Regions from separate parts of the Homo sapiens genome. Here region 2 is linked to region 1. The links are contacts of gene promoters, found by promoter capture Hi-C in blood cells and fetal thymus (Javierre and others, 2016). All regions are on one chromosome and are shown on one strand. Each heading gives the region's core, a stretch centred on a gene start or on the middle of the fragment in contact. The rest is flanking DNA. Distances are from core to core; before and after follow the strand shown. Region 1 holds the start of MIR1-1HG (MIR1-1 host gene). Region 2 holds the start of NTSR1 (neurotensin receptor 1).

Region 1 (6,245 bases), core at 1,239-3,738:
CGTGAAGCCAGACTCTGAAAAATGTGGAGAAAGAGCCAGAAGGAGACCAATGGGACCTCAAGGTTAGGCCCTCACCAGCAGGAAGGGAAGCCGCCCCGAACCTGCTGGGAGCGGGGAGAGGAGGAGGAGGAGGAGGAGGAGGCCTGCAGGGTTTCGAGGCCTCGCAGTGGCCCAGGGCGAGCCTGGCACGTGCGGTGGTGAGAGGTGGAAAGAAGGCTTTGCAGGTGCCTGGGGGGGACGGGGGCCAGGGAGGCGCCAGTTGGGGGTGCAGGCCGGGCACAGACACAGGAGGCTTGCTAAGCGGTGGGGTCCAGCTGGGCCCTGGCCCCTGTCCTGCCACTGACCCTGGCGTGGGGTGGGACAGCAGCCCCGGGACATGAAAGGACCTCCCGTTGTCCTCATCAGGAAGAGAGGTCCAACATGACTCTGTTGCTCCTCCAGGCAGCCCGTCCATGCGAGGGGACAGCCCGGAGCGAGTTGGTTCTCTCTTACCACCCAGGGCAGGGCAATGTCTCCGCAGAGCCTGCAGTGTGCAGAGGCCACTGAGCATGCTGTGGCTGTGTGGCAGTGGGTCTGCAGCTGGGCATGGCTGGGTTGGAGTTTCACGTGGGGGTGGGTGGGGGCGGGGGGTGGGGGTTGTGCTTAAGGCTCTGGAGGCATCCCCTCTACAAAGGAAGGAGCAAATGGCAGACAGAAGCAGAAGCTGATGTCCCATTTCCACGTAGCTGCTGTGATTTATCATTTTCACGTAGCCAAGGATACAAAAAGGGCACCCGACACCGCAGCCTGAGCTTCAACTTCGGGGGCACCTGGGTTCCGCCGCTCATCTGTGCCCTCCCAAGACCTCCGCAATAACCGTCCCCGGAGTCCAGGGAAAAGGCCTCCTCAACGTCCCCAGCTCCCTGGCACATGAGCTCTCAGAGCCTGGGACACTCCCGCAGCCTGGCTCAAGCCCCCACGACCTGTGAGGCATTCATCTGGACGGGGTCTGGGGGTCAAGGGGAAAGCTGGGAGTCCCAAAGGGCAGGAGAGTCACCCCAGACCCAGCCAGAGTCCACAGGACTTCTGCCCACTCACAAATGAATTGTAGTCACTTTTCAAAAAGTTTCCCGTCTGCATAGAAAAAGAGCACCCAGCCGCCTCCAAGCAGACCCCACCGTGAGCCGAGCTGGCTCCTGTGCCCGGGGCCTCCTCCGGGGCTCTTCAGCGGTGAATACCGCCCGGCCCCCGGCATCAGCGCCGCGGGAGGCCACGCGGGAAGTCAAGCTCCCCAGCAGGGACCTGCACAGACGCCGACCACCAGGGCTGCTCTCCCCGAAGCCCCCCTAGTCTCCGCCCACATGTGCCCCCCGCCCCCCACCTCGCCGCCCTGCCCCTGTAAACGCCTCCTGACCCTGACGTGGCTGGGAGAGCTGCAGAAGTGCCGAGTCCCGGCCGGGGGCAGCCTCGCCGCCGCTCAGCTCGGGAATCCCTGCCCCCCACCAGCACCTCAGTGGGGGATACTGCAAGTTCAAGGTAAGTTTAGCCCCACGCCCGGCTGCCGGGGCTTTGTTGCGGAGCGGCAGGTGAATCGCGCCCCCAGCCCAGCCCCGAAGCCCCCATGCCATCCACTGCCCGCGTGGGGGGCCGCTGCTTTCTTGCAAAATGCCCGCAAGTCAAAGTTCCTGCCTCCCAGCTGGACGCGCCCTCCAGGCCCTGCCGGCTGCTGGCTCTGCAGTTTTCCAAATGTGGATGATGCCGCGAGCCAAGAGAAAACTCCACGGCACCCCCGCCGGAGCCGCACGGCGCCGGCACCCGCAGCACCCACCTCGCTGGCAGGCACACCCCCCACCGCGGTGCCCGGCAAGTTTGCAGGGGCCGTCCCGGCGGCCCAGCGGTGGTGATGGGCTGAGCAGGACTCACCGCGGAGCCCAGGGCACCCCTGGGGCCGGGCTGGTGACAGCGGCAGCGGCGGCGGGCGCAGGGTCGCGGCTCCCTAGGAGATGCTGCAGCGGCGGCAGCACCAGCCACCTCCTCCGGGAGCCAATCGCGAATGCAGGGGTGGGGGCCGAAGCTCGATGCGTCCGCACTTGGTGGGGGCAGAGAGAGAAAGAAGACACCAGGCACCCCCTCTCCACACCCCTGCCCTTCCCCCAGCCCTCCTGCAGCAGCGCAGACTTAGCAGGAGGGAGATCTTGAGAGAGAGAGAGAGAGAGAGAGAGAGAGAGAGAGAGAGAGAAGGCGCTGGTGCAGAGTTAGGGAGAGGCGGCCGAGCTGCACACCTTGAGCCCCGGCCTCCTCCGAAGGGAACCCCTGCACCCCAGCGGGGTCAGCACAAGGTAGAGAAGGTAGAGGTCAGGGTGGAACAAAAGGGAAGGTCCCGCGGGTGTGCACGCTCTCGCAGGCACACAGCCGGCTCGCGGAGACACAGGGGCGGGGGAGGGGAGGGGAGGGGAGGGGAGGGCCTGACCTGAGAGGCCAGAGCGGGCGTGGGGGCCCCCCTCGGGTCAGGAGCCGGCCTCACCTTTGCAGTTCTTATATACCCGGCCAAGCATCCCAAACACGCGGCCCTGGCCAAGTGGCCCCCTCGGGCTGCGCTCCCTGACCATATTTAGTCAAGCAGGGGAAAAAATAGCCTGTCAGCTGGGCCGCGGCTGGCCCGGCCACCGGGAACAGGGTGGGAGCACCCACGCCATTGACGGCGGGTCCCGGGCTCAGGCTGCTGTCCTGCCCCTCCCGGCCCCTCCCTGACAGGCCTCCCACCGGCTGTCCCTGCCCGAGATCCCCCCGCTATTTTTAGCCCAGCCAGTACAGAGGCGCCTCCTCAGTAGCCGGGCAGCAGCCTCCATGCCATGCCAGCCGGCTCCTAGGGTGCCCTGGGGAGACCCGGGCATCTCCCAGGCTGCAGGGCCGGGGGTGGGGGGGGCGGGCAGAATGGTACGGCCTCCTTCGCTGCTCTGAGCCTCCAGTGGGCTGAGCCCACCCAGGCCACCAGGAGTGGGTGGCCCCCTCCACAGTCCCATCGGCTCTGCCCTTTTGCCTAGAATTGGGGCCAGGATCAGGTGGTGACAGAGCCACCTGGGTTTCCGGAGACTCTCAAGCCAACCCCAAGTCATGACAAATGCCAGTCGCCTTGGACAGAGGCAAGGTCAACCTGCTTGCCGCCCCCAGCCAGGCCCTGCCACCAAGGGTGTGTGATGGGGAGACCCCAATCCCGGGTGCTGGACGGGCTCAGGAGCTCCCCCTTCCGGGATTTCACGCCCGAATTATGTAACAGACGAGGGCCTGGGACGGGGCCTGACGGGGATCTGTCCTTGCAGGGCCTGGACGCAGAGACCAGAGGCCTGAACTGGCAGACTGTCCTCACAGGCTGTGTGACGCTGGCTGGTCGTCCCATCTCTCTGGGGCCCCACAGGACTGGGGACCAGGTCGTGGAATGACAGTGGACCACAGTGGTCCGGGGACCCCGCTCGTTGGTGGCAGGCACAGGCCCGTGTGATGGGGACAATGAGCTTTGGTATTTGTGAGTCCTGTCCAGAGCATAGGTCCTCCTGTTCAGAAGCCACCTCATAAATGTCCCCAGTGCCTCCCGGACTTAGGAAGGCATCCCCTTGTGGTTCTGGCCAGTTAGGGACACAGGGCCGGGGAGTCTATGCCGCTCAGAACAGGCTCAGCTGCATCTAATCCCAGGGGAGCCCCTGAGGAGCCTGCACACCCCCCAGGCTGGCCCACAGGAGCTGAGGCAGGGCTCTCCTCCAGGTTCACCTCCTGGGCTCACGGCCCCTTCCCCACATCCCAAGGCCGGCTCTGCAGAGTCATGGGGAGAAGCCGGAGCCCCAGCCACACTCGCCACACACGCCGACACCCACTCTGGTGTCCTCCGGCCAGCGACAGCGAGGGACAGAGGGACGCCCCCTGCACCTGCCCAGTGCAGAGGCTTCTTGAGTGATGCCAGGCCCTTCTCCCAGCCCTGTACGCCCCGCTAAAGACCCCATGTCTCACCATAAAGGAGGCCAGGAGGTTTTAAGCTTCTACCTGGTCTGAGCACTTTTCTGGAAACTAAATAGCCACTCGGCTTCCCACTGGCAGCGGGAGAGCGTGGTGTGAGGTGTGGTGTCCAAACTCCCCCTGCAAGGCCCCTCCCCTGCAGCCCACTTCCTCCTGCCTGCCGTCTCCAGGCAGGGTTGAGGGGGGCAGGCCAGGCCTGCAGCTGGGGTCAGGGGCATAGACAGCCACAATGGGGGAGGTGGGGAGCAGTCTGCAGGCCTGGGCAGGCGGCTCTGTAAAGGATGCGGGTGCTTTGTGGTGGTGAGAGAGAGGGTATGCAGCAGACGTGGCCATAAATCACCCTCCTCACGGCAGCCCCACACCCACGGACCAGGGCACGGGCACAGGGCCATCTCCTTCCAGGAGAAGGGCTGGTGTGGGTGGCCAGATCTGACAGCCCCCAGGCCGTAGGACAGAGCCAGAAGACAGAGCAGTTCCCCCGTTTACCCATAGCACCAGCCTCACAGTAACAGCCGGCACACAGCACTTAGGCTGCCTGGTGTTCCAGAAGCTTCTGCAGGGGCTCTATGCTGCACTCAAGGCATCCCTAAGAGGAGAGCATTTTGCTGTCCCCACTTTACGGAGAAGGAACGTGGGCTCAGGGTGGGTGCCTCACTCTCCCAAGGTCCCATACCAAGCACTGATCGGAGCTGGGTGTGTTCTGGCCCCCACCATGTCCACGGCTGTCCTCGCCAGGGCAGTAAAGTCAGAGCCCATAGCCCTCGCCCCTGACGGCCCAGGGCCGTGCTGCCCGTGGCCCACTCCACCATGATTTGAAAGGGAGACCGCAGTGGGTAGGAGAGACGGGAGGGAGGGGAGAGGGGAGAGAAGGGGGAGACGGGGTAGAGGGGGCAGAAGGGGAAGAGAGGGGAGAAGGGCCTAGGCCCCCGAGACTTTCCCCTTGGTGTCTGCAGGTGGTTTAAGGCGTGAATGAATGAAGGAGCAAGCAGTAAGCCCCGACAGCAAGGCCACCACAGCCCTCGCCCCACAGGGACGCCTGAGCAAGGACCCAAGCAGGGGACAAGCAGGCTCACCCCGCCCTTGCGGGGCTGACCACGAGGCCCCGTCCGGTGGAACACGCCATGACGGTGAGTGCTCTGCCCTGTCTCACACGGCTCCCACTGGCCACGGTGGCTGCCAAGCTCTCAGAAACGGGGCTGGTGCCCCTGCAGACCTGGATTTTTTAGTCAGTGCAGCTTTGATTTGTTTCAGCTTCAGGAGGCTCATGTAGCTGGCGCCGTATGGGACAGCGGGGGAGAGAGAAAATGCACAGCCCAGGGAATGTGGAGACAGGCCCAGCGCCAGGCATGGGGGCCGGAAGGAGCAGCCGGGGAGCAGGGGGCAGGGCCTGGAGTCCCGCCTTGCAGGTCAGAGGTCAGAGGTCAGGGAAGGCCTGGGTGGGGGTGAATGAACAGGCCCCCCAGTGATGTCAGAGGGGCAGGCGGGGAAGGGTCCCGGAAGAGCACCCCGGGGAGTGTGTACAGGAAGGCAGGAGCCCGGAGGCGGGAAGGGGGGCCTGGTGTGTCCAGCGGGCAGCAGGAGGCCAGCATGGCTGCCACTGGGGCAGTGGCAGTGGATGGGTGGCCTGGGGCTGGGCTTCGGGCAGGGTCAGACCACGTCAGGCCTTGTAGGCCAGTGCCAGGGCTGCAGGTGTCCTGCTGAGGGGCACAGGCCTGGGCAGGCTGGCACGGCTATAGCAGGGTCCTTATGGCTTATCTGCTGAGGGTGAGGGTGGAGGGCAGAGGCTGGAGCATCAGGGGCCCTGCCCAGCTGCGGTGCCCTGGGGAGGGCTGCCCAGCTCTGGCTGTGCCTTGAAAGTTTGCCCGAAAGATTCACTGTTGGAGCAGATGTGGTCACAAGAGCAAGGGGGGATGTCAGATGGCCTGGGCCCTGAGGAACAGAGTGCATCCCTAGGAGGGGGACGGCCCGTCACCAGGGAGCCTTCTGAGACCATTTTGTAGGTGGGGAAACTGAGGCTCAGGAGGAAAAGCCAGTTGCCCAGCACGCGAAGACCCAGAGCCTATCTTCCTGCCCCTACATCCTTGTCTGTCCCCAGATCTGAACCTGCCCCAGCCCCAGGACTCTGAGTGCAGCAAGAGGGGAGCCGGGCTGGAGAGTGGGGAGCACGGAGACTGTGGCCTGGATGGTGCCAGAGCAAACAGGAGAGAGGCTGCCCAACGCAGAGGCTGCAGCACAGACCAGAGGGTCCCGGGGCTGAC
Region 2 (5,865 bases), core at 1,548-4,047, 160 kb before region 1:
TTGCCAGGGGAGCAGGGGGATCGGGGTTCTGAGCGGGGGGATCGGGGATCTGAGCGGGGGGATCGGGGGTCTGAGTGGGGGGATCCGGGGTCTGAGTGGGGGCATCTCCTGGGTGGGCAGTGACAGCGCTGACCCCTCCACTGCCCACCTTCTGAAGGACTGAGTGGCTGTCGCCCCTGGGGCCCCTCCACGCGGACTGGGGAGAGGTTCCCCCTGGCCAATGCCAATCAAAGACAGGAGCTTGGGGAGAGCAGATAAAGCCTCAAAGGGAGGGAGAGGTCATTTCTCACTGTGTTTACCCCACAGGCCGTGCCTACTTCTGCCTCTGGTGAGGGGAGGGACTCTCGCCGCAGAAGCAAAGCAGCCCTGACTCACTGCCTGCCACCAGTGTCTGTGGGAGGGGCCTCCCCGAGATGGGACACCTGTAGCCACCAGTTCTATGTGCAGCCAGGGAGACTGGGAGCTCAGTTCTACCCTCCTCCACCCCCCAGCCCACCTGGGTGGTGGCCAGTGGAGGGTCAGTTAGGGCCCAGGGAGTGACAGACAGGTGACCCCCTGCCCGGCACTGCTGCCCTCACCCCCACCGGGCATACTGGCATACGCGGGGTGCCCAGGCAACTACAGAAGCTTAGCTGGGAGGCTGGCGATGCTGGTGTGTGGGGAGTTGGGGGGACAGCCAGCCACCCTGGCCCCTCTAGCTGGGCAGAGGTAGGCGACTCTGCCCGGATCCTTCACCCTCTGGCTTCCTTAGCCCACCAGAAATGGAGGAAACCCCACACTTCTAAGGCTGCTCATTTCCAAGATGCCTTTCAAAGTTCCCGACCGGCCCTGACTTCCTCCCTGGACACCAGCCTCCTGCTCGGGGCTTTGGTTTGATCAGCCCTCCCCTCCAGCACTGGAACCCCCCGTGCCACGAACCTCAGCCAAACTGATTCCCAAGGGGGCTTCCCACCCGCATTCCCACGGCGCTTTGCTCAGACCCTTGGAGGGCCCTTAGTCACTCGGCTCCAGTTTTACACACCTCACCACAACACCGCCGCCACACGCAGATCCTCACAACCTTCCCCGCAGAAACATCGTCCCCACCATCCCGCAATAATAGTGCCTGTGAGCCCTTCTATGTGTCAGGGGCCATGCAAACACTTCCCACGCGTCCTCTCTCCAATGCTCTACCTTCTGAGGTCAATGCTATCACTACCCCATCACACAGATGGGAAAGCTGAGGCTAAACTAGGAACTGGCCCAACACGGCATCAGGTTCTGTTCTGACTCCCAAGTTTGGGTCAGGGCAGGCAGCTGGGAGGCACCGGCAGAGCCAGTCTGGGGGCTTCTCTGCAGAGGAAGGAACATCACCTGTTGGTGGCACAGTCTTTTGAGAAGCTGATGAAAGTGTTACTCTTCCTTTGGAGACGCAGGTGCCAGCGCACATGTTTCCATTAGGCTTAAGGAATTCAGAGATGTCCGAGGCCCAGCCACCAACACCAGAGAGGTCACAGGCAGGGGCTCCATCCCCTCAACAGGAGGGAAGAAGATAGGGGCTGAGCCTGGCAACTCTGGAGCTGCCCCCAAGCTGCCCCAACCGCCTTCCCAGCCTCGCAGGAGTAGACTGTCTCTGTGACATCTCTCCCACTCCCTACCCAGAAGGCACACCACTGGCACTGCTTTTGGGGTGAAGGAGAGGGGAGCCCCGGGGCTGGTTACTGAGGCTCACCTGTATGACGACCTTGACGGTGGCAGTGTGGATGGTGGGGGTGCACACCAGGCCGCCGGCGTGCTGGCCGTCGGCGCTGCGGTTCTGCTCGCCCATGGTGAACAGCATAGGCACCGCCAGCAGGGCCGAGGCGAGCCAGATGGCGCTGATGAACTTCTTGGTGCGGCTTCGGGACATGAGGGTCTTGGCCTTGAAGGGGTGGCAGATGGCCAGGTAGCGCTCCACACTCAGGCTGGCCACGTTGAGGGCCGTGGCGTAGGTGCAGGCGTCGCGCAGGAAGTAGTAGCCGCGGCAGCCGGCGTCGCCGAAGGCCCAGGGGTGGTGCACCCAGATGAAGTTGTACAGCTCCACGGGCATGGCCAGCAGCAGGGTGAGCAGGTCGGACAGCGCCAGGCTGCCCAGGTGGTAATGCACCGTGCTCTGCAGGCTCTGCAGCGACTTCTTCCGCGCCAGCGTGAACGCCGTCACCGTGTTGCCCACCGTGCCCACCACGAAGAGCGCCAGGTACACGGCGGTCACCAGCACCTTGGAGTAGATGTCGGTGTTCACGTCCAGCTCGCTGCTGGGTGCCGCCAGGACGCGCTCCGACGCGTTGCCCGAAGCGTTGCCGAAGCCCGGGGCCAGCAGCGCCTCCTCCAGTCCGGCCTGCGCCCGCTGGAAGGGGTCGGCGGCCGGCGTGCCCGGGGTTCCCGGCGCGGAGCTGTTGAGGCGCATGGTGGGCGCTGGAGTCCGCGGCTCTGTCCGGCGCCTCCGGGGCTGGAAGTCCGGGCAGGAGTGGGCGCGTCTCAGGCGGGGACCGATGAACGGGAGCCCAGGGGAGGGCGCGTGGCGAAGACCAGCGGGCGCGCCGTCCAGTCGGGAAGCGCCAGACCCAGACGCGCCGCCCCGGGCTCCGGGCTCCGGGCTCCGCTCTCCTCCGGACTCCCAGCTTCCGGCTCCTAGCTCCAGAACCCGTGGTTCCTCGGGCTGTCTCCCGGCTCGGCGCTTGCCACGGGTTCCAGGTGCCTCCGATCTCCAAACCGCGCGGTTCCCCAGGCCCCCGAGGACAGCGCCCAGCCCGGCTCGGGCTGCGCGGGGCGAGCTTGTGGCGCCGGGAGGAGCGCACGCACTGCTGCCCGGGCGCGCTCCCCTCCCTCGCTCAGAATCTCCTCCCTCGCGCTCTCCGCGCACCCCAGCCCCGCACACCTCCCGCCGCGCCCGCGCCCTCCCGGCTCTGCGCGTCTCCACGGAGCCGGCGGCCGCGCGGCGCGCCCAGCAGTGGGGGGTGGCGGCGGAGGAGGGAGGCAGCCCCCGCCGCCATCCCCGCCCCGCCCGGGTGCAGCCTGGCGGGTCGCCCCCTCGCGCTCCCCGGGGCAGGGCGGGCTGGGGTGAGCGCTCCAGGGAACCAGGATTCCGAGCGGGCGCGGCGGGTATCGTGCACCAGACCCTTCCTGCCACCCTCTTCCCTGTTCTCCGCAATTTCTCGCACCGGCTAGGAAGGGAACTATGCACCTCCCCCAACCCTGGGCTCGCTCAGTTGGGGTGAGGGTGTATCCGGAGGGCAGGGAGGGAGGAAGCTCCCCGCTGGCAGGGCTGGGCGGCTGCGCAGCTGGTTGGGCCGACCCCCACTCCTGGGTGTCCACAGGGTGCCAGAAGCTGGGTGCCCAGGGGGCTCTAGGACCACTGGAGATTACATTTCTGGTGATTCCTTTTAAAATCTGGCCGCAGTCATGGGCGTGCCTGGTCTGTGAATGCGTATTTCTGGGATGTGCCCAGTGGAAATGGTGGGGGCTCAGGGCATAGTTATCACCTGGGGCAGGATGGCGTGAGGCAGTACCGAGGGACACCTGCAGGGGCTGAGGAGCTGAGGGGCTGGGTCCTGCAGAGGCCGGGAGCCACAGATGGTTTCATCAAAGTCTGGGGAGGGGTGAATGAGGGAGGGCAGAAAGCAGGTGCCCAGAGCAGCACCCTCCCCACTCAGGGCCCTGCATCTGGCACCCTGGGCTGGTCTCATGACGCTATGGGATGTGATGCCCTGGGCCCCTTATTACTGCCTGGATTTGTCATCAGAAGCCACCCTGAGAGCCTGCGCCCCAGCAGGATTTGGGAGAGGCAGCCCCAGCACGCATCCTCCCAGGCCCTGCAGGCTTTGCACACTCCCTCCCTCTGAGTGTCCTCACAGGGTGCCCCGGCCCCTGGCTCGGGAGCCAGGTGAGGGCAAGATTCCTGTCCTTTCCGTGTCCCCCCCAGCACCTGGTGGCACTGGCATAGGTGGCCAGGCACAAGCTTGCCCCCCCCTCCATGTCTGGGTTGCCCAGGGGCCCCCAGGGCACTACTGTCCCTTCTCTGGGCCCTCCCCGCCCCCTCCCCTGCTCCCTCCTCCCCAGAACCCCTGGGAGAGGTTGGGTAGAGCTGCTGCCCCATGTGTGCAGGGCTGGGAGGAGCTGCTCGAGTGCAGCCCAGGGAACCAGCCTGGCCTTTGTGCACATGGCTGGCTGCACCTGCTGTGCTGGGAGCAGGAAACCTGGGCAGGCTGGGGCGGGGGTCGCAGGGTGTTGAGGGAAGCGGGAGGCTGAGGAACCCCCTCCCGGGCCCGCCCAGCTAGGAGAATTCAAGGCTTCTGAGCCGGTGGCTGGCAGCGGGACTCTGTGATTATTCGTCCGTTCTCGCCCTGCTTTGGACTTCTCTGTTCAACCGGAGCCTGATACTCTTGTCAGGGGGCTGCAGCTCACAAACATCAGAGCTTAGAAATCTTGGCATCAAAGGAAACGCCAGTGATCCCTTTGCTGGAAGCCAGTAGATAGGATTGAATGTTGGCCCTGCTACTTCACATTTGGGCGAGTGTGCTTAGCGTCTCTGTGCCTCGATTGAGTCGTCTGTAAAATGGGAATAGCGGCTGAATGAAGGGCAGGGCTGTTACTGATGGGTCTCCACGGGGAATGAACGAGGTCGAATGGGCTGTCGGGTGTGAGGTGAGGTGTTCCATCCAACTAGAATAGGCTGGAGTAGGCCAGATTTGTCCTCTGGAAGACACGATTCACCAGTTAAGTACACAGGTTTTTTTATTTTTTTATTTTTTTTATTTGTTGAGATGGAGTCTCGCTCTGTCACCCAGGCTCGAGGGCAGTGGCGCGATCTTGGCTCACTGCAAGCTCCGCCTCCCAGGTTCTCGCCATTTTCCTGCCTCAGCCTCCCGAATAGCTGGGACTACAGGCGCTAATTTTTTTGTATTTTTAGTAGAGACAGGATTTCACCATGTTAGCCAGGATGGTCTCCATCTCCTGACTTCGTGATCCACCCGCCTTGGCCTCCCAAAGTGCTGGGATTGCTGGCGTGAGCCACTGCGCCCGGCCAAGTACAGAGGTTTGGGCGGGGACCTTAGCATCCACACCATGCCAGGGAGTACAGGTGCTGGACAGTGTGAGGTCCAGGCGCTCACCACTGTCTTGGTAACACTGGGGCCTGACCACGGGCTGGGCCATCAGGCGCCTCTGTCGAGACCCCCACAAAGAGGAAGTCCACAGCAATGGCCACTGGAGTCTGTCCCTCTGCCAGCCAAAGCAGGAGGATGCAGCGATTGTGCTCTCCCTCTGCCTAAGCTCATTGTTTGGTTTTTAAACCCCTGACCTTTTGGCTAAGCTGCCCTTATTTTCAAAGATTTATCTGTGAGTTGGCCTGGGAGCTTACAAAATCATAAAAGGCAACATAGTGCAAATATTGTGTTGGAGCATTTGCTTAAAACCACATAGGAAAATGTCACTTGGAAGGCCTTGTTCTACACAAGGCAGATGGCAGGCCTCCGGTGGGGACCCCTGGCAGCCACGCCGCTCGGCCGTTCTGAGCTCTTCTGTGCACTCACAAACCGGATGGCTCAGCGGCTGGAAGCTCTTAACTCCACGTTGTTTGCCCCTTTCTCTTCTGATTTCTGCAGACAGAAGCCCTTCCTAAACAGCTGAGACTCTTTAAAGAAAGTGCCGGTGAGGTGCTTGGGAAGGGACAGGCCAGGTCCGGTCATGCCCATTGGGGATGCAGCCACACCCTTGGCCAGCCGGATGCCTTCACTGACACGTGAAGTCGGGCACGCCTTGTGGGGGGCAGGGCTCCGGGGGCGAGTGTCTCCTGCAAGTTGGAGAGCCTTGGGGACCTGCTGCCCCGATCCCAACACTCCCAATGCT

The links. Contacts are between HindIII fragments. The CHiCAGO score rates a contact against its expected background, and 5 or more counts as called.
Region 2: a contact is called between the fragment with the promoter of NTSR1 here and the fragment with the promoter of MIR1-1HG in region 1, in 2 of 17 cell types (neutrophils and M1 macrophages). The highest score is 7.3, in neutrophils.

The regions. Positions count from the first base shown.
Region 1 is chr20:62,546,696-62,552,940 of GRCh38, reverse strand. It overlaps MIR1-1HG (MIR1-1 host gene), which reads right to left and starts at 2,488. Exons shown (of 4, transcript NR_171007.1): 1 at 1,903-2,488. CRMA (cardiomyocyte maturation associated lncRNA) reads left to right here and starts at 1,380. Exons shown (of 7, transcript NR_033263.1): 1 at 1,380-1,515; 2 at 4,480-4,629; 3 at 4,941-5,114; 4 at 5,239-5,393; 5 at 6,083-6,245. RefSeq lists an enhancer at 1,526-2,401. The HindIII fragment of the contact is 7,236 bases long and covers 1-4,009 here.
Region 2 is chr20:62,705,768-62,711,632 of GRCh38, reverse strand. It overlaps NTSR1 (neurotensin receptor 1), which reads right to left and starts at 2,797. Exons shown (of 4, transcript NM_002531.3): 1 at 1,712-2,797. The coding sequence starts at 2,425. RefSeq lists enhancers at 1,506-2,050, 2,051-2,597, 2,807-3,319, 3,320-3,833. The HindIII fragment of the contact is 3,349 bases long and covers 630-3,978 here.